7 separate regions of the Homo sapiens genome follow, and all the other regions are linked to region 6. The links are contacts of gene promoters, found by promoter capture Hi-C in blood cells and fetal thymus (Javierre and others, 2016). All regions are on one chromosome and are shown on one strand. The core of a region is centred on a gene start or on the middle of the fragment in contact, and the rest is flanking DNA. Distances in the headings are between cores, read along the strand shown. Region 1 overlaps LOC124901228 (translation initiation factor IF-2-like). Region 2 overlaps EYS (eyes shut homolog). Region 3 overlaps EYS (eyes shut homolog). Region 4 overlaps EYS (eyes shut homolog). Region 5 holds the start of PHF3 (PHD finger protein 3). Region 6 holds the start of KHDRBS2 (KH RNA binding domain containing, signal transduction associated 2). Region 7 has its middle 32 kb from the start of LGSN.

The links. Contacts are between HindIII fragments. The CHiCAGO score rates a contact against its expected background, and 5 or more counts as called.
Region 1: a fragment that was not itself captured here is called in contact with the fragment with the promoter of KHDRBS2 in region 6 in 1 of 17 cell types (monocytes); the score reaches 7.5 in monocytes.
Region 2: a contact is called between a fragment that was not itself captured here and the fragment with the promoter of KHDRBS2 in region 6, in 1 of 17 cell types (monocytes). The highest score is 5.2, in monocytes.
Region 3: a contact is called between a fragment that was not itself captured here and the fragment with the promoter of KHDRBS2 in region 6, in 1 of 17 cell types (monocytes). The highest score is 6.7, in monocytes.
Region 4: a contact is called between a fragment that was not itself captured here and the fragment with the promoter of KHDRBS2 in region 6, in 1 of 17 cell types (monocytes). The highest score is 9.8, in monocytes.
Region 5: a contact is called between a fragment that was not itself captured here and the fragment with the promoter of KHDRBS2 in region 6, in 1 of 17 cell types (monocytes). The highest score is 6.1, in monocytes.
Region 7: a fragment that was not itself captured here is called in contact with the fragment with the promoter of KHDRBS2 in region 6 in 1 of 17 cell types (monocytes); the score reaches 6.9 in monocytes.

What each region holds. Positions count from the first base shown.
Region 1 is chr6:63,564,128-63,568,131 of GRCh38, reverse strand. LOC124901228 (translation initiation factor IF-2-like) reads left to right here. Exons shown (of 2, transcript XM_047419610.1): 2 at 1-1,897. It also overlaps a transcript of LGSN not described here and a transcript of PTP4A1 not described here. Among named protein-coding and RNA genes, the nearest start is that of PTP4A1, 6.4 kb to the left of the region's middle. The HindIII fragment of the contact is 1,991 bases long and covers 430-2,420 here.
Region 2 is chr6:63,902,788-63,906,645 of GRCh38, reverse strand. The region is part of intron 35 of EYS (eyes shut homolog); the gene reads left to right. Among named protein-coding and RNA genes, the nearest start is that of SCAT8, 98 kb to the right of the region's middle. The HindIII fragment of the contact is 803 bases long and covers 1,846-2,648 here.
Region 3 is chr6:63,795,701-63,799,597 of GRCh38, reverse strand. All of the region lies in intron 37 of EYS (eyes shut homolog), which reads left to right. It also overlaps the pseudogene LOC100422587. Among named protein-coding and RNA genes, the nearest start is that of SCAT8, 9.2 kb to the left of the region's middle. The HindIII fragment of the contact is 4,318 bases long and covers 1-3,897 here.
Region 4 is chr6:63,816,155-63,819,843 of GRCh38, reverse strand. The region is part of intron 36 of EYS (eyes shut homolog); the gene reads left to right. The region is part of intron 1 of SCAT8 (S-phase cancer associated transcript 8); the gene reads right to left. Among named protein-coding and RNA genes, the nearest start is that of SCAT8, 11 kb to the right of the region's middle. The HindIII fragment of the contact is 5,816 bases long and covers 1-3,689 here.
Region 5 is chr6:63,632,391-63,636,067 of GRCh38, reverse strand. It overlaps PHF3 (PHD finger protein 3), which reads right to left and starts at 266. Exons shown (of 16, transcript NM_001370348.2): 1 at 1-266. RefSeq lists a silencer at 112-471 and enhancers at 1-509, 1,041-1,578. The HindIII fragment of the contact is 627 bases long and covers 1,287-1,913 here.
Region 6 is chr6:62,284,182-62,288,157 of GRCh38, reverse strand. It overlaps KHDRBS2 (KH RNA binding domain containing, signal transduction associated 2), which reads left to right and starts at 1,933. Exons shown (of 9, transcript NM_152688.4): 1 at 1,933-2,300. The coding sequence starts at 2,210. RefSeq lists a silencer at 1,984-2,073. The HindIII fragment of the contact is 7,395 bases long and covers 1-3,976 here.
Region 7 is chr6:63,350,379-63,353,896 of GRCh38, reverse strand. It overlaps a transcript of LGSN not described here. Among named protein-coding and RNA genes, the nearest start is that of LGSN, 32 kb to the right of the region's middle. RefSeq lists enhancers at 655-744, 845-1,114, 1,185-1,294. The HindIII fragment of the contact is 3,983 bases long and covers 1-3,518 here.

The DNA.
Region 1 (4,004 bases), core at 176-2,675, 1.3 Mb before region 6:
CACAGGAATGATAAGAAAGTGAAACAGCCTCATTGTTGATAAGGAGAAAGTTTTAGAGTTCTGGATAGAAAACCAGCCACAGCATTCTCTTAAGTCAAAGCCTAATTCAGAGCAAGGCCTTAACTCTCTTCATTTTTATGAAGGCTGAGAGAGGTGAGGAAGTTGTAGAAGAAAAGTCTGAAGATAGCAGAGGTGGATTCATGAGGTTTAAGAGTAGAAGCCCTCTCCCTAACATAAAAATGAAAGGTGAAGCAGTAAGTGCTGATGGAGAAGCTGCAGCAAGTTATTGAGAAGATTTAGCCAAGAACATTGATGAAGGTGGCTACACTAAATAACAGATTTTCAATGTAGACAAAACAGTCTTATACTGGAAGAAGATGCTGTCCAAGACTTTCATAGCTATAGAAGTCAATGCTTGGCTTCAAAGCTTCGAAGGACAGGCAGTTCTCTTGTTAGGGGCTGATGTGGCTGGTGACTTTAAGTTGAAGCAGATGTTCATTTACCATTCTGAAAATCCTAGGACCCTTAAAAATTATGCTAAATCTACTCTGCTGTGCTCTATAAGTGGAAGAACAAAACCTGGTTGACAGCACATCTGTTTAGCATGGCTCACTAAATATTTTAAGTCCACTGTTGAGACCTACTGATAAAACGTGATTTATTTAAAAATACTATTGCTCCTTGACAATGCACATGGTCACTGAAATGCTCTGATGGAGATGTACAAGGAGAGTAATATTGTTTTCATGCCTTCTAACACAGCATCCATTCTGCAACCCATGGATCAAGGAATAATTTTGACTTTCAGGTTTTAATATTTAACAAGTACATTTCATAAGGTTATAAATTGCTGTAGATGGTGATTCCTCTGATGGATCTAAGCAAAGTAAACCAAAAACATTCTGGAAAGGATTCTAGATGCCATTAAGAACATTCATGAGAGGAGGTAAAAGTATCAGCATGAACAGGAGTTTGAAAGAAGTTAACTCCAACTCTCATGGATGACCTTGAGGGCGTTCAAGACTTCAGTGGAGGAAATCACTACAAATATGGTGAAAATAGCAAGACAATTGGAGTTAGAAACAGAGTCTGAAGAGTTGACTAAATCGCTGCAATTTTATGATCAAACTTGAATGAATGAGGAGTTGCTTCTTATGAAGGAGAAAAGAGAGTGGTTTCTTGAGATAGAATCTACTGCTGGTGAAGATGCCGTAAGCATTGTTGAAATGATAAAGGATTTAGAATATCACATAAACTTAGCTGATAAAGCAGTGGGTGAGTTTTAAGAGGACTGATTGCAACTTTGAAAGGAGTTCTCTTGTGTGTAAAATACTATCAAACAGCACTGCCTGCTACAGAGAAATTTTTTGTGGAGTCATCAATGCAGCAAACTCCATTGTCTTATTTCAAGAAATTGCCACAGCCACCTTAACCTTCAGCAACTACCTCCCTGATCAGTCAGCTGCCATCATCACTGAGGCAGGATTCTCCAACAGCAAAGATTATGACTTGCTGAAGGCTCAGATGACTGTTAGCATTTTTTAGCAAAAGTATTTTTAAATTAAGGTATTCTAGGGTACCCGTTTTCCCCACTTCCTTTCTGTGTCTTGACCAAAATCACAGTGACCCAGCCAGCTGTAGCCATAGGTTTTCCTCAGCTGGCTTGAACCCAAACCAGCTTGAACATTCCCAGGCACTGATAATAATGTCTTGGTTTACTGGAAAGAAACTGACCCCGACCCTGAGCCGAATTCCTTAAATTTTCATGTAAACTCCATCCCCTCACCCCCTGGCTACAGACTAATGTGGGTAAAACATCCCTTTTCTCTTGCTGTCCATCACAATAATACATTGCAACACCCTGCAAGTTCCTTTAATAAATGTTTTGGACTGATCACTCTGGCATTTAGAGCTGCTTTCTTTGAAATCTCAAACCAGCCCTGTCTTCAAATGGTTTGGGGTACTCTGTTGTACGAATTCTCCTGCTGCTGCTTTTAAGGCAACTCCAGCTATGGGTTCAGTGGGACAAAACAGGTATGTACATTTTTTAGACATAGTGCTATGCACATTTAACAGACAACAATGTAGTGTAAATGGGAAACCAAAAAATGCATGTGGCTTCCTTTATTGTAATACCTGTTTTATTGTGGTGGTCTGGAGCTGAACTTGCAATATCTCCAAGGTATGCCTATGCTTAAATCTCTATGAACATATAATTTGCAGTGCTTAAATATTGTTCAAAACTAAAACATGCTCTATATTAAAAAGTGACTTAATTTTCTTCCTTAAGACATTGATTTAAAGATTTATCAAAAGTCTTTTGAGTAAGTTTTGATGAATAATCAAAATGCTGTAGCAGAGCTACATCCTAATTTCTGTGGGAAATTTAGACACAGAAATTTCCAATGAGCAAATAAGCTTGTCACAACAAGCCTTTTAAGGAATCTGGCCTAAGGACAAAGTCCAAAGGCCAATAGCTGCCTGTGGGCTACTGTGTTTTGTTGAGTCAGACATATAGAAACAGTCACCCACCTAGGAGGGTACTACAGATGTAAATATTTATATTAATAAATGAATCCTGCTGGATCAGAAGTAACATCTTATCAAGTCATCATATCAAACCATTTGAGGTAATATTTTCTCTGTAAAATTGATTAAGGCAGTTTTGAACAACTTTTTTTTTTAAAGTCTATTTTAAGAAACAATTCTCTTGAATCGATCTCTATTATGCCCATTCTCTGTCCCTTTTTCATGTCTAATTGTAATCAATTTAAATATAAACCTGAAAGTTGTCTAGGTAGTCTCCAAATCAAATGAGAATGTGTATTCACATTAGTAACTCTGCCGCTTAATATAGTATTTACTTCTGTAGGAGCTTAGTGTGTGTATTAAGATGTGACAGATACCGCCTGGGCAACACAGTCAGACCCTGTCTCTACAAAAAAAAAAAAATTATCTGGGCATGATGGTGCATTCCTGTAGTTGTAGCTCCCTCGGAGGTTGAGGTGGGAGGATTGCTTGAGCCCAGGAGTTGTTAGGGCTGCAGTGAGCTGTGATCATGCCACTGCACTCCATCTGGGGCAACAGACCAAAGACCCTCTCTCTCAAGGAAAAACAAAAAAGAAATGATGGACAGATTGATTAGTAAGAGAATACTTTTCATTTGCATGCTGAAAGGCACCATTTCCTTGGGGCACTGAATAAAGGACTTATTATGAATCTATCCATAACTCATGACTGTTTTGCCTACTGGTACCTGGAGGAATCTAGTTTGAGAAGACTCTTCTTATTTTAGCAAATTTGGTGAAATTTCTGTTGCTGTTCTATAGCCTGAATAAAAATCATTTGGGAATTGAAAATCAGGAAGGCCACAGTCTCCATGTGATTGTTTAGAACATGTTGAATTATGCCACAGTCTGAACTGAGGCAAAAATAGCTTAGGAAAGGAGAATTTAATCTGGCTAGAGAAAGGGAATGGAGTATAAATAAATTTTAAAGGTTGGATATGCATGCTATGGCAAAGCTGTCACTTGACAGGTTTAATTTACAGAGTTGGCATTTAGGCTGCAGATAATCCAGACAGACAGTGACCTAAGCAGCATTACTGGGGCAGGCCTTACATAAGGAGAAATGTTGTTGAACAATTTCCTGCAAGCATAATAACATTTATTTAACAAAAGCTACAACAGTCATGCTTTTTTCTTATCCTAACACAGTTGCTTTTTAACTAGGGATGTTCAACAAACGTTGCTATCTTCGTGTATTTCTATAGTTCCATTCATGGCTGGAAGATACTGAACATAAGAGAAAATGAGTATAGAAGCCTTTTGAAATTTCTCTCTTTTTTTTTTTTTTTGAGACAGAGTCTCGCTCTGTCACCCAGGCTGGAGTGCAATGGTGCAATCTTGGTTAACTGCAACCTCCGTCTCCCGGGTTCAAGTGATTCTCCTGCCTCAGCCTCCCAAGCAGCTAGGATTACCAGGCACCTGCCACCACACCCGGCT
Region 2 (3,858 bases), core at 998-3,497, 1.6 Mb before region 6:
ATAATGCTAAAATGTAACATTAGAACTAAAAGCTTTTCAAAAGCGTTCAGTAAGGTGCAAATACAGAATACTTAAGTTCTAACACAGAAACTAAACTAGGCCATCATTTGAATCCAAAATCTAAAATGTATGTATTTAGAGGCTTTGGTTTGAATAAACATGAAGATTATACTAGCATCTCACTGACAATGGACACAGTTATAGCAAGAGATGAGAAGCAAGGTATAAAGAAAATCAAGCCAAATTCTAATAAGCTGCCCTATTATAAATGCAGCAGACTTCTTTTGCAGGCATTATTTGCATAATAGGTGCCGTAATTTGTGGATGGCACCTCAGATAAAACATAAAATGTCTTTCAACCTTTGCAGTACAGTAGACTAAAAATATAGTGAATGAAATGCTAAGTGAATTACTAAAACTTTATGGCATTTTATAGCTTTGTAAAGTAATTATGCTTCATAACAAGGAAAACTGGGTATAATTTTGAAGAATTGAGGTAGACACCCTCTTACTCGAAATATCTTCCTACATTTTATAACAAATTAGAGATTGACGCAGCATAGTGACAACATTAGCAAACTACAGTTATTTTTTGCTTCCAGGTGGCATACATTGCTTTTTAAATATAAGAGCAGACATTCAAATGAGCTTCAGGGATTGAGCAACACGTAGGTTATTTTCAAATGTCCTCACTAAAATCAGGAGAAATGTTTTTTTCTGGAATTTCAATTATCCAGCTTAGTCTGGATGCTGACCCAGACAAGAAAGGCCATAACGGGGATAGGAGTAGGAGAGACAACTGACACAAAATTATTTCTGAGCAGAATAGGTATATGTCAAGAAAAGCTTACAGGTTAGCCATGATCGTTTGGTTGGAATCAGTGTAAAGATCAAAATCGACAGGCAAATTCTAGTCCACTGGGTTAGAGAATTTAACACAATACAGTACCATAAAATGTGCCGCTGATAGTATTTGAGTCATTCTATTAAATTTTACTCCTGAAATCCCCTTATTTGGCCAGGCGCGGTGGCTTACGCCTGTAATCCCAGCACTTTGGGAGGCAGAGGCGGGTGGATCACGAGGTCAGGAGATGGAGACCATCCTGGCTAACATGGTGAAACCCCATCTCTACTAAAAAATACAAAAAATTAGCCGGGCGTGGTGGCGGGCGCCTGTAATCCCAGCTACTCAGGAGGCTGAGGCAGGAGAATGGCGTGAACCTGGGAGGCAGAGCTTGCAGCGAGCCGAGATTGTGCCACCGCACTCCAGCCTGGGTGACAGAGCGAGACTCCGTCTCAAAAAAAAAAAAAAAAAAGAAAAAAAAAGAAATCCCCTTATTTAACTGGCTACATCCTCTCTAAAATGATCTTTTATTTAAAGGCCTTTCCACATAAAAGGGAACAAAGTACTGATACATGCTACGACATGGATAAGCCTTGAAGCCTTGAAAACATGCTAAGTGAGAAAAGCCAGACACAGACACAAAAGGCCACATGTTGAATTCCATTTATATGAAACATCCATACTAGGTAAACCCATAGAAACAGAAAGCAGATTAGTGATCGCAGAGGACAGGAGCCAGCAGGAAATGACGAGTGACTGCTTAATGGGCATGGTGTTTCCTTTGGGGTGATAAAAATATTCTAGAACTAGATAGTGGTGACAGTTGCACAACAATGTGAATGTACTAAATGCCACTGAACTATACACTTTAGAATGGTTTAAACAGTGAATTTTATGGTATGTGTATTTTACCACAGATGCAAAAGAGGCCTTTCTAATTTGTCTGGTTTGACTCATACAAAAATTTCTTCCAGATCTAGATCTTGTCAGTCCCTGAAGCTTTGCAATTTGGAGAGGCTTCTAAGAAAAATAATTCAGAATAGCAAATACAAAATGCCTGTTGCTTCTCCAGGCAAAACTTATGCAAGTGAAGGGCCCTGAGGCTCGTCTTTCCATGGCTTCATGACAGACACCTCTCAGTTCCTTCCCCAAGAACTGCAGAGAGGAGAGTCCCATTATCTGGCCTAAGTTCCCAGTTAATACTTGCTCATCTTCCCAGAGGTGATTTGGAAGGTCACCATTTTCTACAGCATTGAATCAATTTTGAAAGACTTCCCCTATTATCCAGGATGAGGAGCCGAAGGCCTGACACTGCTTTCCCAGGTTGAGTGTGCATGCTTCCAGGTATATTGAACCCTAACCTATGCTTAAACTGCTAATCTTGGGAGCTATCGGGCATGGATACATTGCTATATCATCAGTTGCTAAGTCATAACAAGGGTCACTATAGTGTGAAGATAGAAAAAAAAAGGTTGGGTAAGTCAAAGTAAGAATGTATTAAGATGAATATGAGAAATAAATGTATCAGACTGAGTTACTGGAAACAACTCGGGTCAAGGAGTCATTCAGAGGAAACACAAGCTGCACATCCTTTACTACTCCAAGAGCATGAAGCAAGGACAGTTGAGACACAGGGCCCCAGCCAAGCAGAAAAGAGAGCTGAGCCTCGCAGGCCCACTTCTGGCTGCCATGATTACAAATGGAACTCTTCATATATTTAAGACACTACATGAGAAAAGCTATAGAAAAATAAACAGTGGATAAGACTGGAGCAACGCTAGTTATCTTTGCCTTAAAGTAAGCTTTTGGCAGGAGGAGGGCTATATGTAGAAAAGGACAAAATCGAGGGTTATAAATAAAGATGTTTGTATAATTTCACCTTTTCAGAACATCTTAGATTCTACCTACAGTCTTTTGTGTGTCCTTCTCACACAGTGAGACTAAATTGGAGTCATTGACCATGTCCATTTTCTAATCTGCCTCACCTGATAGCTATTTCTGCACAAGAGGATACCTCCTGTCTGCGTTCCATCAATATCTATTGGGGAAGACTACATCCAGGGTCCTGTTCTATAGACTGAATAAAACAGACAAAACATCCCTGCTTTCATGGAGCTTACATCCTAGGGGTAGAAAAGAAACCATAAATTGGTAAGTTATGAGAAAGTTATAAGTGTAGCGGGGTAGGGGGACTAGGGTAAAGGGAAGGAGAAGTGCTTTCACAAGGCAGGGGTAGCAAGGGAAGAGTATTCCATTTGACATAGGTTCAGGTTAGGCCTCATTGCCACCAAAGATTATTAGATAGATAAACTAGAGAAACAATGAAGTTAAGTACCTAAGTGCCATTTCAGTCTATATTCCCTAACCAATTTTATTCTTACAAATTTCCCTTTCCATACCTATCACATCAGTCAGGTCTAACTCATTCCTTTCCTTTACATATTGTGTTTATTTCTACTCTATGCTTTTGCTCACATTGTTTCTCAACTCCCTGAATCTCCAGCTTGATGACCTTCCTACCCCTCACATGTATTAGCGTGAAGGATATTTTTTCTTCCTCATGAGCTCAGATTCCACTCCCAGCTTAGATTCCATATTTGATCAATATGTTCATTCTTCCATATAACCTCAAATCTGTGTTTCTTTCTCCTCCACTGCACCTACACCTGTAAAGCTGACCTAGTCTGGCAAAAAATATATGACTGTGACAACTGGTTGCGCATTAAATTCATAATTACCAACTTCTGATGGATCCTTAGTGCACCTCCAAAATCTTAAATTTCCCAAAGCTATTCACTCTTTCCTTCTCCTAGGTGACATTTAGTACTTCTCCTTTCTTCTCTAACACCTAGCACCTTCTCCCCTACTTCATGCTTAGCCAATTACCCTGGTATACATAATCAGAAGAGAACTTCCAACAAACCTCCATAAGCAACCTACATCTTTATTCATATACTGTTACCGCCCATGCCCCTCTTTCAGTAAACTCTTGCTCTATTGCCATTTTTATGCCT
Region 3 (3,897 bases), core at 601-3,100, 1.5 Mb before region 6:
GCTGCATCATTCCTGTGCTGGATAGTTGGTGAAAAATCAATAATTACATGTTTATTTATTATTTCACTAACTGAAAGTCTCTCTGTGGACAGAGGCTATCCTAGTTAGCTAATAATGCTGTGTAGGCATTGATTGATTCGGATTGTAGTGAAGAAGTTAGGATCTGATCTAAATGAAGGGGGAGGGGAAACATGTAGCACTGTTTGAATCATTGAAATATAAGTTAAAATCTCAACTGTAGTTTGTATTAAAATTATATAATACAGTAATAAAAAAAATTTAGGAGCCGGGCACGGTGGCTCATGTCTGTAATCCCAGCACTTTGGGAGGCCAAGGCGGGTGGATCACCCGAGGTCAGGAGTTCAAGACCACCCTGGCCAACATGGCAAGACCCTGTCTCTACTAATAATACAAAAATTAGCTGGGTGTGGTGGCAGGCACCTGTAATCCCAGCTACTCAGGAGGCTGAGGCAGGAGAATCACTTGAACCCGGGAGGCGGAGGTTGTGGTAAGCTGAGATCGTGCCATTGCACTCCAGCTGGGTGACAAGAGTGAAACTGTCTCAAAAAAAAAAATTATATATATATATATATATATATATATATATATACACACATATACATATATATATATACACATATACATATATATATATATTTTAGAAGAAATATATTTGACTTCCTGGAAATTTGATCTATGCACCTAAGCACTTTATGCACATAGCTGTCAGTCACCAGCATGTAGATCTTCTATGCTGTGGTAATTATGAAAGGTTGCCTCATATTTTCTGCCAAATAATTTCTTGTTTGCTTCAAGCCCTTAGTTATAAACTGTAACAGAAATAAGAGTGCATAAATATAGCTTGATTATTTTCCTGTGGAAAAAAAATGAAATGAATGTCACCCTACAGAACAGAAAAAGAAAATTGAAGCAGGGAGTGTCACAGAAGCAATCAGCTCAGCCTGTTCTTCAGAGAGCCCTGGTAGGGATCAGGCAGAAGGAAGATGCCTGATGAATGAGAGCAGGCTATGGCCAATTCCCTAATGTAACACATAGTTCAATTGCACAGCACTGAGGTATTTTATAAACAAAACTGACAGTGTATGCCTATATTCAATTTTTTATAACAGAAAAATGCTCATTATTTTATTCTGTAATCACACCAGGAAGACTAGAAATCATGAGAATTTTCTTCCTGAGAACCTCAAATTATCAAATCTTGGTTTTCATGGAATCAAATATCCTGTACTATAATGTCAAAATTGTCTGTTTTAAATTATTTGAGTCTTTTAAAATAGTTTAAAAAGAAGTTAAGCTATTCACTTTCCCGACTGACTGAGAAACACATAAAAATTGTCACATGTGACTAGTATTCAAACAGGGTTAGAAATGACAAAGATATACAGATACTTGCAAATCTTCCCCCATCTTTTTTTCAAATGTATTTCTGAAGAGGGAATATACACTTAAGGATGGTTCAAAGTGGGTAACCTTGATTTCACAGGGGAACACTATACTTGCAGTAAGCCCATGTGGTTTCATCTTGTGGAAATTTAAGTTTACCCACAAACTGGTGCTTACATCCCTTATTTTCACAGTCTCATCTCTGACAGCAAGAGAGATACAGATTTGCCACTTTTTCTAGTCTCACCTCCTTTTGCTCAAGAGATATAAAAATGTGGGCCATATGTAGCCCCAAGAAATGCATTTTATCACATTTTCATATTCTCTGAGCATAGCACTGGATTTGTTGTTCCTATCAACCCTTCCACACTGTCTGTTCACTAGCACAGATGGAAGTCAGGACACCATATTAATTTGGCCACAAAAAGAGCCAGTCTACATTGCCTACATTTTAATGGTTTTAATCCCATGAGGTAGACACTATATTGTATCCATTGTGCTCAATGGCTAATGATGAAACATCATGGTCATGGCTGTACATGGTTCTAATGCTCTCAAAACCCTAGAATATCCATAACTGAATAGTCCCATCAACAGAACAGGAAGCCAAAAGTTTGCCACTATGAACAGGAGCTATACAGGTCTAAGATAAAAAGAGACTATATGCTCTTTAAGAGTTAATCCAAAATCTTTAGTCATCTTAATTTTAGTTTAGCATCCCCTAAAGTAGAGACTGTAACTGAATATGGGATAAAAATGGCTCAAATGTCTAGAATCCTATATCACTCGATACATCTTGTTCCGGCAGTAAGGACTTTCACTCGTTTGGGTCTTGTTTCTCACGTATCGACCTAGATATATATTTTTTGTTTTACTTTAGTTTTGATTCTAATTGCATAAACTTCTATAATTTTCCTAAGACCTTTCACACTTATTTAACTTTTCATTCATATCTAATTTCACTTTCTTCCTAAAAACTGAATATACCCTCTCATAGCCAGTTGAAAAGACAACTGAAACTCAATTAGGTTCATCTGGGTGTCTCTGTCGCAGAATCATTATTTTGTTATATTAAGAATATTTAATCAAAAGATCGTTTCCTTCTTTCAGAAATCAAAAGGCATTACAAGCCCTAGAACTATAATCAAATATGGCTGCAAAAATATCTTCACAAAACATTCCTCCAGATGGGAACTCCCACCAGTAATCAAGCGCCATTCTGTAAGCAATATTCATTTGGTGGGAGAACCACAGCACCATCGTTGTGGCTCCTCTTACATTTTCTCTTTCAGCCTTGACAGGAAAGGAAGAAGGGAGAAGGAAAATTTACTTGTCACTTAGAATTTCTTAATCCATTTGGAAATATCTTTTAAAACACTTGAAGTTATTCCTAGAGACAATCCTATGAGGTGTTATCTTTACCAGTTTTTTCAAAAGAGTGAGATAACTGGAAGTGAGCAGCCAAAACTTAAATTAGCAAAATGTCCAAGATTACACGCTCATGTCCTTGTACTACTTGGGACTTTGCTGAACTCTGCAAAGTACATTATCATATTTAGAGGAATAAATTAAATTTAATAAATGATACTATTTTACCATATTAGAATAATAGTTTGAAGAAATAACAAATTACAACTATTATTCCTTTACTATTAAGTCTTTCCTTCTAAATGAAATACTTTAGGAAATTTAATCTATTGGAATTAAAAGACTGTTGGATCATCTGAATGAGGATTACCATGTTTCTATGATGTTAAAAGTCACAATATTAACCTTTGCATTAACTGGAATATGCTGAAATACACATGGATCTCACAGCACTGTCTATATAAATGTTTTAGAGTCCCAATATGCCCCTTCAGAACAATCCGAGGAACAGCTTCTAAACCATTGTGAACCCTTATGTAAAGAACTTGAGAGTGAGCTTCTGCCACTTCCAGACAAGTAGTTCTAATTTCTGGGGTACGCCCTAAGCACATCAAGTGAGAACACAAGCATGTACCACTTCATAACTTACAACACACAATGATTAGTGAGAATCAGTAGGAGAAACAGCAGGACGGGTGTGCCTCGAAAGTCTCTCCAAAGCACAGACTTGAATTACATCTTTAATAAATGAGTTTTATGCTTCCTTTGAGGGTTTCATTAATGAATCCATGGCTTGAACCACTAGCTACTCTTGTCCAGGCCATCCTTCAAGGTGGAACTAATTAGACCACTTCTAATTACAGTTACTTCATGGGCATGTTTTTTTTCTCATGAGAATTTCATAATGATTACCATAAGGCACTCAGGGTTGCCGCACAGTTCTGACAATTTTCTCTCCTTGTTATGTTTCTCTCTTTTTCCTTCAGGTCAAGCTGACTTGCACAGTTTCTCCTGGGCTTACTCTCTGAAACCTTTGATTCTTTTCCTCCTTCCTATATAATAGATTTCCCCTTCTCGTTCATACATGCAAATTAAATCAGAGGCTGTGCTGACAAGGTTCAGCCA
Region 4 (3,689 bases), core at 869-3,368, 1.5 Mb before region 6:
ATTCTCCTGATTACTTGTTCTGGATTTGGATTTTCTTTCCCTACTAGTCATGGTTCTTCTACCATTTCTTTTGAGGGAGTTCATCAATACAGTGTGTCATTATGGTATCCTGCACAATATTACTTCTAAACAACAGGCTTCACAGTGAAAGAAATAAGGCAGGGAGAGATACTGAACTTATGAAATTTATCACCCAAAAGTTATTGGCCTTATAAAATAGAAATATCGTATATTAAAGACTCTGTGGCAGCATCAACTGGGCCAACCTTCAGGGTAACAGCACCATTCTGAAAGATGTCATGTATGCTGTGAAACTTTAACTGACACGTGGTGCTATATTTTCCACAATCATACTACACAGATTCAGAAACCAAGGGGGAGCAGAAGAGCAGTCTGTCTCGTGATCATCCCTAAAGACCCACTCACAATTTTTCCTCTCTCTGTGACTCTGAGCTCCACTCATTCAGAGGCTTTTGGCACCCAAAAGGGTAAAGCTCTCAAGAGACATAGCCATAGTCCTATTGAATCAGAATTTACATCATCCACCTCCCTTTCAGGCTTCCATGAAACCACACAAACAGGTATGAAGGGGCTTGAAGGTGTTGCCCCGAGTGACTGATCACAATAGGCACAGAGAGGAGAGTCATGCATTCATTTATTCATTCAATAAAGAGAGCCTCCTATGGGCAGGCACTGTTCCAAGTGCTTAGGATGCAGCAGAAAACAAAAATGACAAAATCCTGCCTTCACGGACCTTACATTTCAGTGAGGTGGGGAGACAGTCTAGTGATTTGTGAGAAGGTAGATTATAAGTGCTATGGAAAAACAAAAACAAAAATGCTGAGAAGAAAAAGAGAAGAAATCCCTGGGAGGGGATCAAGGTGTTTTTATAAGAATTCAAGATATTTTTGGATGGAAGGAGACAACTCACTTGGATAGATGAATGGCAGAACTTTTTGTTACTTACAGCTTCAAATGGGAGAAGACTGCCACAGGGCCACACGGAGGTTTCCCTTGGAAAGGGCTTTTGTGTGGCAAGTCAGGTGGGGTTAGTTAGGTTTTGAGGGCTCTCTGTAGATTGGCTAATTGGAATAATTCTGAGGGCTCCAAGGTGTGTCCCTAGTTGTCTGGTGCCTGTCCCAGGGCAATTAGGACAGGAGTGTGGTGGCCTGGAATGTGAGAGTCCAGGGAAATGACTAGCCTCCAACCAGGGCCCCAGACTGGGTTTAAGACAGCATTTCTTAAAAAACCTTACCACACAGAGGAAGGTTAGAAGTAAATAGAGTGTACAGGATAGGACAAGATAGGCCTCAGGGAGAAGGAGAAGGGTGGAATTGAAAAAACACTGAAGGTGAGAGAATTAGCCAGCAGGTGAAAAAGTGTTCTGGTAAAACCCAGGTAACCCTCTCAGTCAAAGAAGCTGTGAATATGGATGAGGAAAAAAAAACTACATCTTTCTGTGAACTCCAACAGAAACTTAATGTATTCTTAACTATGAAAATCAGCATAAAATCACAGTTGTATTATCAGCACCTGCAACTTTGTCACCAAGAGAAATCAGATCCCTTTTTATCAAATGACAGTTGTTATATACTGTATTAAAATATGCTTGTGCCCCCTCAATGTGAAACTGCTGTAGTTATTATACCTGCTGCTAGATTTTGCTATTTAAATACATTATGAAAGGACTATACTGTTTCCTTCATGACAAAACATTTGTTATAATTTATTAATTGTATTTCAAAAAGGTGGATTTGTTTTATAATCTTAGGTATTTTACTGTATGAATTTAAAAACATTATTCTGAGGAGGGTTCCCACTAGCTTCCCTAGACTGCTATAGAGGTCCATGACATGCATACATTAACAGGCACACATGCACACACACAGTGAGAAGCCTGCCTTGGGATAGTGCTTCACACATCCAATGGTAAGAGTTAATGGAGGCCTCGTGAAGCTCCTGACCGCAGGCCCACCATGGCCTGGCCTCTCAGGAATGATGACTTGCATCACCACACCAGATAAAGAATCCAACCAACTGCAGGGCAGGCGGCAAGCAAGGAGGACACAGAAGAAAGAATTTAAATTTGCTTCCCCTACGTGAAAGGAGAGAGCATCCAAAGAAGAAAGTTCTAATATGAGAAGTGGCCTTATGACCAGTTCCAGGAATCTGGAGTTTAGCCCCAGGGCTTCCTGGTGAATGCCAGTCATTTGCAGGTTAGCTCTGAGATGCATTTCTCACCCTGTACAAACTACATTTTCTCCTACCAAGGCAAGGTCCTGTCAGGAGACAGGAGACTGGGGGGAAGAGAAGCTACAGAATTTCTCCCCTCTCCCCTCCACTAGTAGCTGCATCCGCGATTGGTTCCAGCTGCCACTTAACAGGTCCCCAAGCTACCCGTGGTCCCATGTCCTGATGAGCAGCCCCCATTACCGGACCCAGCTCCTGTCAGGAGGTTGCAGCTCTTGGGCTTTTGTAGCACTGTGTCTTCCCTTTGTTCTTTCAGCCATAGAGGTAGCAGCTGCTTTCAGCTGTTCAGTTGTTGCTATCCTCTAGGTGGCCTCACCATCCCCTGTTTGCTCTCCCTTCATAATTAGCTCCCTGTATCAAGTCTTTCCTTTTGACTATCTCTTGTGGATGCTGATAAGCAAAAAAGCACAATAGTAGCATTACCTTTGATTCTGTCACCAGGAAAAATCACAGATACTTCCATATCACATTACAGCTGTCATATGCTCTCTGGTTTCTGTAAAGCATTTGAGTTTAGTAACTGAAATTTAGTCTATATCAGGACAGTATCACAACATAAACATGAGAACAAATGGCCATTATGCAGAGATTCCTTCTGTACTTGGAACAAAATGCAATAAAAGAAAAGACTTTAAGAAGTCTCCAATTGGGAAAGAAGGGTGACACTTTTTTTGATTATATGTGGGATTGTTGCATTATGTTAAAAGGAAGTTATTTGAAAATGCAAGTATAAGAAGGATGCACGTTGGCACTCAGCAACCAAAGGTCTGTGGGAAACATTTATTGGGTATTACGTTTGTTTCAGTTTTGGATTTTGGCCACGTAGCACGTGAACTTCCTTCTTATTTGCGTACATGTACATGCCTTAGGATAAGCCAATGGGATAATCTCCCCAAGATTTGCACCCTGAAGAAGTGGTCCAAAGAGAGAGAGTAATATTTAGAAATTATTTGTAGCTGAGGTAGTTGCACAGCTGTCCCCAGTCATAGAAATACCAGTGGCTGCATCCTGAAATAGCTGTTCACACAATGTGAACTTGGCAGTATTTGAGCTACCTATGTTCCTTTGTTTTTCCTGCTTTCCCTGCTAGTTCTCCAGCCCTCCCACTGACCATGAGGTAATCTGTCTCCTTTCCTGCTTAAGATGGTCAGGGTTAGTTTATATTGCCAGTAACCAAGAAACCTAATTGGTACAGTTTTATTCCAAGTATTTCATGCTATAGCAAATAAAATACTTTATTTCATTATGTTTTCTGATTGTTGTTCTTAATTATTCCAGTCATCTTTTGTAGTTCTATAATACTCCATTATAGTTTGAGATAGGCACCTGCTCACTATTAGTACACAAAATCTTGGGGCTATTAGATATAACAAGATCCTTTCCAATTAAAAATAGTACTCAATATATGTTATACCTTGTGAATCATGTATGATATTTTT
Region 5 (3,677 bases), core at 351-2,850, 1.3 Mb before region 6:
CCCGGTGGGTGCCGCGGAGAGGGGGTACGCGCAGGACGTCGGCGTCGCTGCCACAGCCTCTTTTCCTCCTGGGACCAAATGGCTGCTGCTGACGACACTATTCTTGGCTTCCGCGCCGCCCTCCTAATCCTCGTTGCAGCCGCCGCCGCCCTGAGCCCGAAGGTCGCTTGCCGCGTGGGGACGGTGCGACGGCGCGAGACCCCGCAGCCATCGGCGTGCGGCGGCGGCGCGGGAGCTGGAGAGGGGCCGTGTCACGTGACCCCACTGTTTACCGTTCCGGGGGCCGCGGCCTGCGTCGCTGCCGCGCCTGCGCGCTTTAGGGCCTCGAGCGCCGCGCCTCCGTGGGGCCCCGGGCTGCAGCGCTTCCCGGCGTTGCCGCGCCCCTCCCTGTCTTCGGAGGACGCGGCACCGCCTGCGGGCTTCTAGCTCACACCTCCGCGCCGCCGGGAGGGGCGAATCAGAGGAGCGCTTTTTCTCGACCGTAGTAAGCACTAAGGCTTCACAGTTAATATAATATTGATGCGCAGCTCCCCAACCCCAGGTACTTTTTATTAATTGACTGTGAGTTCAAGAATGGTAGAATAGGATGGAGTAGATGAGCCCTCTGCCCAAATATCTGTGCTGGCTCGGCACAGCAGCCTTACCATTAACTACCTCCGTTACCCTCACCCTACATGGCTGATCTACCTCAGGACTCAAATTGCTACCTCCAAGAAACATTCTTGGTATCCAGTAAGCAGTCTTCAGAATGTGGTCCCAGGTTTCCCTGAGGGGTCGCCAAGACCTTTCAGTAGAGCCTCCATTCCTTTGCCAGGAGCATGTGTCTAAGGCCAAATTTTCTTCCCACCCTTCAACCAAAACAGCATATAGCAGCTGATTCAATGCAGAAACAGATAAGAGAATCCAGCCATCTTCTATTAAGCCAGACATTGAGGAAATCTGCAGAAATTTTAGATATCACCCTTTTATTAATTTGGAAAATATGCTTTTCATAAATACATTATTTGTGGTAACAAATATTGTGTAGAGGTCCAGAGACAAAAAAAGTTTGAGACCCACTGGTCTGCTTCCACAGACACTTGAGCTAACCCCTATCTCAGCCCTTAATAAGCGCTGTGAAGTAATTGTTGCTTGTCAGTCACTCCAACCAAAAGGAGCTACTTAGGGACAGGGTTTGTGGCTTTTATCTACAGGGACTATTACAGTATTCAGCCAGTACCTGCTGAGCACCTTACTGTGTGGTCTGCACTGTTCTAAAACCTTTACAGTACTTGTTGATTTAAGCTTTAGACCAACCGCAGCCCACATTGTAAGATTAGTGCAGGGTGGAAGAATAAGTCACAGGCATGTGGTGAAGATCTGTTCTTTCCTCTCTCTAGTCTTCTGATATTTTAAGCACTCTTAATAGCAAATGCTCTTCTACAAAGGAAGTTTGGGTTGTCCTGATTCCACTGGATTCTTAAGAGTTTCACCCCCTGTCTTGACTAATCAATCCCTCAAGACTTTGTTTTACAATCTTTTTGTAATGTGTTTTTGAGAAAGGAAAATAGAAATGAGTAATTTTTTTTTTTAATTCTCACTTGGGATGTCTGGGATGAATTATAAAAACAAGCCTAATGTTATTCTTACTCTTCTGGTGGATCTCAGTGTGACGTTTTAAAAGGGCGTTCAGAAAAAGTAAAATTATTGTTATAAACAAAATCCAACCCCGAAGGAATTCAACAGAGTAGAACTTGATGACGGAGACCACTAGCTGGAAAATCCCTTAGAAGGGCTGAGGAAAACTTACCTTCTCAGAGAAGTTTTAATAAATTTAAGATAAAACAAAATGGAGATTAAAAGAAAATGTAAGAATCATAAGACTGTCACATTTACAAAGCAAAGATTTCTGATCCTTAAAAAGTCAACAAGCTTGCCATAGGCATGATGTTTTGATTCTGTTATTTTGAACCAGCCAAGTGCCCAGATTCACATTTGTCCACTAATGGTCTTTGCTTTTTGCTTCCAGATGTAAACACGAACTGTTTATCTTATACCCAATTCATAGAAAGGTTAGTAGAAGAAAGAACCAGCATAATAATACTGGCAACAGCTATAACTGCACACAGGACTTATTGGAAGATCAGATTGTATCAGTAACATTGAAAACTCCAAATTAACTTGGGAAAATTAAATTTGGTAGGAAAACAAGACAGAGTAATTGATAATGACTAAAACTGACAGTGTATTTGTATTTAACTAAAAAATTATCAAAGAAGGAAAAGTGATAAAATTTGGATCTTGCAAAACATTGACCCAAGAAAACTGAGCCTGGCAGAGATTAAGACCATGGAAGACAGTAAACAATGTAGACACAAAAGTCAATTTTGATATGAAAAATGCTTGTCATCACTGAAACATTGGTCCCTACAGTAATCAGTAAACTAAATATGGAAAAAAAAAATTGGAAGAATTAACCCCTATGAGCAGAAAGTCAATAAAAATATTAAATTTATTTAATGAAGTTTTTTCTGGCAAACACTTTGTAGACATGTACTTTCGTGTTAATTTAGAATAGATTTAAATGTTTGTATGCTTAAACACAGAATCAAAACAGTGGGGTCAAAAGATCTCAAACTCAGCCGGGTGCGGTGGCTCACGCCTGTAATCCCAGCACTTTGAGAGGCCAAGGCGGGTGGATCACCTGAGGTCAGGAGTTTGAGACCAGCCTGGCCAACATAGTGAAACGCCGTCTCTACTAAAAATACAAAAATTAGCCAGGCATGGTGGCAGTCCCATGTAATCCTAGCTACTCTGGAGGCTGAGGCAGGAGAATGGCTTGAACCTGGGAGGTGGAGGTTGCAGTGACCCGAGATGGCACCACTGCATTCCAGCCCGGGCATCAGAGTGACAGAGACAAAAAACAAAATAACTCAAACTCATTTTACCGAGATCATCATTGAACTTGGAGGCTTAAGTTACAACACTTTTTCTTACATCGTGGGCTTGCTGCCTTCCACACATTTTTTTTCCTAGTTTCTCCGGAAAGATGGCCCATAGCTACTCAGGCTTTCAGCAGTAAACAGTGGGTGAAAAGAAGTGCAAGCCCCACCGGGAGGTTAAAATTTCCATAGCTTACCTCTGTTCAGGGGGTGGTGCCTAGGAAGGCTGGGTCAAACAATAAAATAAAGCTTTTCCGTGCATCAGGACTGCACAAGCTATAAAGCACCTTTGTAAACTTCAGCAACGTTAAGGCACAGGAAAAGAGCAGAGAGAGACCTGAGGCATCAGATTTTTAACTAACTCTGTGATTAACCGTCTTTGTGACCTTATCTCTCTAAGCTCCTCTGCATTACTCTCCCTGCCAACACACTTCATTTGCTCATTTGTTTATTCATTTATTCCGTTATGCACCCCAATAGGTTTCAGAAATAAATGGTATTGTTCCTGCCCTCAAAGAACTCAGAAGAGTGGCAGTAGATAATTAGGATTCAGCCTGGTGTGACAGCAGTTGATGCAAAAGACCCATATTCGTGTTTTATCTGGCCTGGAGTGGGTATGGGGGCATTTCTGACAAAAGGGATGTCCTCAAGGTCAAAGAAGTACCAGAGAGCTTGGTGTGTTTCAGGAACTACAAATGATTCATTATCTGAATTGAACATGTTGCAGCCATGAAAATAATCAAAATTCTTTTAACA
Region 6 (3,976 bases), core at 684-3,183:
TATTGATTCCATTCTTTCCCATATTACAGTAGTCACATTGACCTCAGTCAATTCCAAAAGACAGCACAGTTCTTTCCACCACAGGGCTTTTTCAGGGGCAAGTTCCCCTGCTTGGAATGTCTTTCTTTGCACATTGTACTCACTTGGTTCATTCTTTTCCATGAGTTTTCACCGTAAATATCAGCTGCTTATCGAGATTGTATGTTTACCCTAGTCAAAAATAAAGAAACTAATGTCTTCCCTTGTATTCTCTTTCTTAACTCCTTGGTTCATTCTTGACCTTTATTGCAGTCAACAATTACCATTCCTCTTGTATACTTGGTTTTATTTATCTTCTCCCATTAGAAAACATCTTTGTGATGACAAGGAATGAATGTGTATGTATCTTATTCACCAATGTTTCTCCAATTTTAAGTACTGTCCCTAGACTCTTTTCAGTATCCAATAAACATTTGTTGAATGCACACATGCACAAATAAATTAAATATATAACACACAGAAAGGTAGGTTGAAGCAGTATATTCTGGATATAAATGGTGCTAATATAGAATTGAATTTTAATCTCAACTTCAGCATTAACTAGACATGAGACGATTTCTCTGTTTTGCCTCAGTTTCCATATTTATACAAACAGAGAAAGTAATACTTGGCTGGCATTTTTCAGAGTGCTTCTGTGAGGACGTATTGAAATAATCAATGTGAGGCACGTTACGTTATTTAAACATTATACAAATAAAAGTTAATCTCCCGAATTTATCTAAAAATTAAAAGGAAAATATTTAAATACAGTAAGATAAGTTGGAAAAATTTCAGCACATTTTATTTGTAGCAAAGTTGGCCCTCATTCTTCCACACCAAAAATAATGGGGGAGAGAAGAATCAGGAAATGACTACTTATGAAACGAGAACCCAAGACTTGGGGAAAGATTGTTTCCTAGCGATTGAGGCATGCAAGTTACATTTTATAGCCGCATTGGTAAAAGAAGGATGGGCTTTGCCTCCACGCTTGGTGATATCATGAGGGTTTAACTTTCCTTTAAATAGAGGTGGGATAATACAAAGTAGCTCAGCAACAGTACCTGGTGAAAGAGACTGGCACATCTAAAACTAGGAGAAAGGGGAAAATTAGAGCAAACGTGGTTACCTATTTTCTAGTCTCTTCTTTCTTCTACATGTCTTCCCAATTCTTTCACAAACTGTGACTAATGAATCATATTGTTTTTGGTTTTTAAATTCAGCCCCTCCCAACCTCCCTTCCACAGATAGGGTCTGGGGAAAGGAGGCACGGATAGGTTACCAGAACTAATTCAATATCCTAATGATTGTACACCTCAATCATGTCTCTGCACAATATTTCTTCGAGCCGCTTTATTTGTTTATCAATGAACATCCTACTGCGTCCCTGAGATGTAGGTCATCGGAAATACCAGCTGCCGATCACATGCAGTCTTCATTGTATTTCCAGACCCAGTGCGCTGCTGATTCCTGCACAACTGGAGTGCGCCTGAGCTGTGTGAGGGAAAGGAGACACCTGTGCCTTAGGGACGCAGGTGAAGTCCCATCTACCTTCCTGAGACTTTCCCTGGCGCTTTTCCACCCTCTCGGGTGGCTCACTTCTCATCTCCATCTCCCCTGTCCACTTGTACTCAGACCTCTCTCTTTAACCTGCGCTTTTCCCGCGCTCTCTCTCCTCTGCGCCTTAGCTGAAGACACAGAGAACTCCACAAAACTGGGCATGCCTAATAGCCAGGGAAGGCTTGGGCGCAAGAAGAAAGCGTTTGCATCTTCCGAGCTCCCTTCCCCTCTGCAGCTGCCTCCTGCCAGTCAGGCCACCCGACTTGCGCTACCGCCCAATGAGAGCCCGCGGCCTTCTGCCAGCGCCCCGCCTCTCCTGGCACCACCACCAATGAGTGGTTGGCGGAGGTGGGCCGCGTCCTGTTCCCGCCTCTCCAGTTAAGGCCGCTGGTGTGAGCCGGGGCTCTGCGCGAGCGAGGGACGACGGAAGGGACGGGCAGGTGTGGGCGCGGGGCCACGCAGCCCGACGGCGGGAGTCGCAGGTGCTGGGTGCATGGGCCAGTGAGGACGCACAGAGATCCCTCGCCGCGCGGAGGAGGAGCAGCGCGGGAGCCAGGCGCTGCCCCAAGACCCTGCCTGCGTCCGAGCGAGCGGAACCTCGCGCTTCGCCCGGGGACAATCCGAAGTCCGCGCTATGGAAGAGGAGAAATATTTGCCTGAGCTGATGGCAGAGAAAGATAGCCTGGATCCATCTTTTGTGCATGCGTCGCGCCTTTTGGCAGAAGGTAGGACTTGCCCCCACAGATGGGCACAAACCGCCGGCTGCCTATCTCACCCGCGGCTTGATTAGGGGAGTGAAGTTGGGGAGGGACTCCTCTCCCCGCCTTCGCAGAAACTGTCCCCCTGAAGATGCTCGCCTTAGAGCTCGGGCGGACAGACCCCGTTCTTGGGGCGGACAGCAGTGCTCCTTCTCCACGTCTTAATTTGGAGAAGACCAAAGCTACGGAGATCTAATGGCAGTGGCGATGTGACCTGTTAGGATCATTGATAGAGAAACCATAAAGTGTATGTAACGCGGTCTACAGGGACATTTTCACTTCGCAGAGGGAAGGGAAAGCAGTTTGGAAGTAAATGGTGATCAATGTAGTGTTCTAAGAGCTTCGTAGCTACAGATCGGTATTTTTATTTTTATTTTTTGCTGCATTTAGGAAGTGATTTTTGATACCCTTTAATCAAAGTCTATCCTATGGAAAGTGTTAGAATTAACCTATGCATTAAACTATGCATGTTCTTATATGTATGTTAATGTGGTAAGTAAAGGCTAAAGTGCTTATACATTTATTTGAAGTGTGATGATTGGGTACTCTGTGAGATATTGGTCCCTGGGAACACTCTATAATTGATCAACTGTTTTACCAAGTGTGCATTTTCTTTTGTGTACCTGTAATGTTAAAGGGGATTTCATTCCTAGAGGAACACATATGTCTTGTTTTTTGCATTGCTTTGAAAGGTTTTTTTTTGAAAAAAGACACATGAACTTTATTAACCGAATTACTCCATTTATGTTATAATAATGCCATCTAAATACTAAAGACACCTATGGTATCTGTAGTTACTTACCCATGCCTTTTTAAAACATCTGCAGATTTTTTTTAGATGAATGCTTCATTAATAATGAATTGCTTCATCATCAAATTGGTTACAATGCAGTTTTGTAGCTAAGTTTGTTATGGACTTACATACAGCAAAAAACTAAAACGGATAACTTCCTCTACCCAAGCTCCTCAGTATTAAAAGATTTTTTTGAGACTTAGTTGTACCAAGGAAGAATAAATTCTGCTCCTCAATATATGATTTAAATAGGCATTAGCTATATTTTTTAATTTATGAATTGTTATTTATATTAACAATGAAGTGTAAGGTATTTTTCTATGTTTAAATACTAAACAATTAGGAAAAGATTTATATTCAAAACATGGAACATGTGAAATAACTAAACTGTTTTCAGGGAAAAAGCTAGTTTTATAGATAAGTGGGAAGGTGAAATACAATTATGCCTACTACTTTCTTGGTTACTGAATGAAAAAAAATATAAATTAAAGTGGAAAAGTAAAGTCAATAAAAACGAACTTTTTTTACTTTCCCAAAAAAGACAACTACATAAAAATAATAGCAAAATAATGTGTTAATAGATGTTTAAGATTGTTTGAAATGATTTAAAAGGCAAGTCTTACCAGTCTTCAGTATCTTTAATATATTTTGAATAGTCTTCAATATATTTTCCAGAATTTTCTTTATGTAGCTTATAATATGTCTTTAAAGTGAAAAAAAAGTTACAAATTGATCATTCTCTCTGACCCGCTAATTGGAGTTCTATTTGAGACAAGTGGCTCAAAGATTAATTCATCAGTCATTAATATGAGTTATTGTACTTGAAGACGGCCAAGCTAAATAAATGCAT
Region 7 (3,518 bases), core at 476-2,975, 1.1 Mb before region 6:
TTTTCCCAATGTATATTCTTGGCAACTTTATAAAAAAAATCAGTTGCCTTATATGTAGACTTATTTCCAGGTTCTCTATTCTGTTTCATTGGTCTATGTGTCAGTTTTTGTATCACTGTAATGATGCTTTGGTTACTATAACCTTGTAATATATTTTGAAGTCAGGTGGTGTGATGTCTGCAGCTTTGTTCTTTTTGCTGAGGACTGCTTTGGCTACTCAGGCTCTTTTTTGGTTTCATGCAAATTTTGAGATTGTTTTTTCAATTTCTGTGAAAAACATTATTTTTTCTTTTTTTTTTTTTTTTTTTGCTACAAACTGCTTCTTTCTAAAAGAGAAATCTAAGTCCAGGTATTAATGAAGTAGGAAAAATTTCAATAATTATAAGAGTATAGTAGAAAACTTCACCTTACGTTCTGTTATGGTTCCCTACAAAATACTCTGTGATAGAAGCTATTTCTCTGGTAGGGAGAGTCTTAAACATCTGTGAGCATATCCAGGAAGGCACTGTTGCCAGGGATGGGAACATTTTCTGCACAGGAGACCCTGTTAGGTACTAAGGATCAGGTTTTCCTGTGTGTCTCAGGATGTTGCCTATTGCCTCTTGCCTGTTGGGTCTGCAACAGAAATCTGCAATTTCTGGCCAGACTGCTCAATTTCCTTCCCCTTTGGTGTTACTGACCTCTGCTGTTAAAAAGCAGCGCCTCTGCTTGCCTCTAAAGCTACTCTCTGGTTTCCAACCATTAAAACATTCAATAACCAATCTCATCATTCTGGAAAACAAATATCCTGGAGCTCAAAGGCTACAGAGACTTTTCCAATTATTTCCTAAAATGGCTTTTTAGATTTGAAAGTTCTTCTGTGAGAACCAGGGTCACGTGTCTGTCTTCAGCGTTACAGAGAAAGACAGATGGAGGTTGTTGCGCTCACAAGAGAAAAGGAAACTTAAGGCAGCTTCCCCTTTTCTTGACCACCGGATGTGTCTTCTGCAACTTCTGTGAACTCCAGTAATTGAGGTCATATTGTGGCATTAAAAAAAAATCCAGCTGTTTGCATGGTTCCCTTAATCCTTACTCTTATCTAATTCAACCACCTAATCTGGCCAAGAAATGTGAGGGGAACAAAATTCTATCCCTTTGTTTGAGAGACAGATGAACAGTCTCTAACATAACCCACAAATAAAACTGTGTGTCTGTGTGTGTGTGTGTGTGTGTGTCTGTGTGTGTGTGAGAGAGAGAGAGAGGAAGAGAGAGAGAGAGAGACAGACTGGAGTGCGGTGGTGTGATCATGGCTCAGTGAAGCCTTGATGTCCCAGGTTCAAGCAATCTTCCCGCCTCAGCCTCTTAAGTAGCTGGGACCACAGGCATGTACCACCACACCTGGTGAATTTTCGTATTTTTTGTAGAGATGGAGACTCTCTATATTGCCAGAGCTGGTCCCGAAATTCTTGGTTCAAGCAATCCTGCCTCAGCCTCCCAAAGTGCTGGGATTCTAGGCGTTAGTCACTACACCTGGCCAAACAAAACATTTTTAAGATTATTGATCTTAGTGGAGTCCTTGTGATAAGGCATAAGCATGACATTCCAAAATAGAAAGAATACAAAACAATGGATTTGCGCATAAATATCTCTACTAACATGTGAGTTTTGGAAAATTCCCTATTTCATGAATCATTAGCTTGTAAGTTTTGTTTTGATGTTATACAAGCATTTCTAAAACAAGTCTGTGTAGATGTTGCCACCTACTGTTTGCCTAGAAACATCCTTCATATAATTCATTTCATGTAACAATAGTCTTTTTTCTAATTGCATTTATTTTCCAGGAAGGTCATTTCTGTCTCAACCATTTCTTGTTTTAAAATTATTTGTCTATTTGTTACTTACTCTTAAGTACCATATCTACGAGGTCATTACAAGAAATTCTTTCTTTATACATTGGAAAATCCTGAGGCAATGACACAATTTTCTTTAAATGTTCTCTGATATATTGAAACAGTAAATCAGTCTCAGGTTTAAAAAGACTATACAGTATATGTCATTGAAACATCATTTAAAAAATTATTAGTCTCCATGTAAATCAAAGTGGTCAAGATCATTAGATTGCTGTTAGTTTTATTTTGACATTCATATTTAAGATATTTAGGCTGAGTGTGGAGGCTCATATCTGTAATCTTAGCCCTTTGGGAGGCCGAGGTGGGTGGTTCACTTGAGGCTAGGAATTCGAGACCAGAGTGGCCAACATAGGAAGACCCCGTCTCTACTAAAAATACAAAAAATTAGCCTGGCATGGTGGCGGGCACCTGTAATCCCAGCTGCTTGAAGCTGAGGCACAAGAATCACTTGAACCTGGGAGGCAGAGGTTGCAGTGAGCTGAAATCGCACCACTACACTCCAGCCTAGGTGGCAGAGTGAGACTCTGTCTCTGTTTCTGTCTCTCTTTCTCTGTCTCTCTCTCTCTCTCTCTTCCTCTCTCTCTCTCTCTCACACACACAGACACACACAGACACACATACACACACACACACAGAGATATTTATAAAGCAAATATCTGCTTTTTTTCCTTCCTTTTGTCTTAATCTTTTCAGGCTGCTATTAGAAAGCACCATAAACTGGGTGGCAGATAAATATCAGAAATGTATTTCTCACAGTTCTGAAGTTTGAGAAGTCCCAGAACAAGACACTGGTAGCTTTGGTGTCTGGTGAGGGTCTGCTTCCTCACAGACAGGGTTTTCTCACAGTAACCTCACATGGTAGAAATGGGAAGGGATCTTTCTGGGGTCTCTTTTATAAAGACACTAATCCCATTTGTGAGGGTTCCATTCTGATAACCTAATCGCCTCTCAAAGGACCCACCTCTTATGTTAACCTTGGGGGTTAACATTTCCACATATGAATTTGGGTGGAAGAGACACAAATATTCAGAATATAGCACTGTAAATAGTTTTGGATGTTAGTGATTGAATGGCAAATTCTTTTTTATTAGGATAAAAAACCAATTGTTTTACTTACCAATTGGTCGTCTGAACTCGTTTTTGTTTGTTTGTTTTTTTTTTTTTAGATGGCTCTGTGGCCCAGGCTGGAGTGAAGTGGCACCATCTCAGCTCACCGTAACCTCTGCCCCACAGGTTCAAGTGATTCTCTTGCCTCAGCCTCCTGAATAGCTGAGATTACAGGTGTGCGCTGCCATGTCCAGCTAATTTTTGTATTTTTAGTAGAGAGAGCGTTTCACCATGTTGGCCAGGCTGGTCTGGAACTTCTGACCTCAGGTGATCCACCCACCTTGGCCTCCCAAAGTGCTGGGATTATAGGCGTGAGCCACCACCCCTGGCCTGAACTGTTTACTTTGTAGTTAGTTTTATGATGTGCCTGTGGCACTATTTTCAGTATGCTGTTTATTAAAACTGGAAATAAAGTAAAAAATTTTAAATCTTCACAACCAGGTTAATTTGAATGCACTGAGATAATTTATGGTTTGCAGACAAATAACTATGACTAGATCCAGTAATAATTATAATTACAAA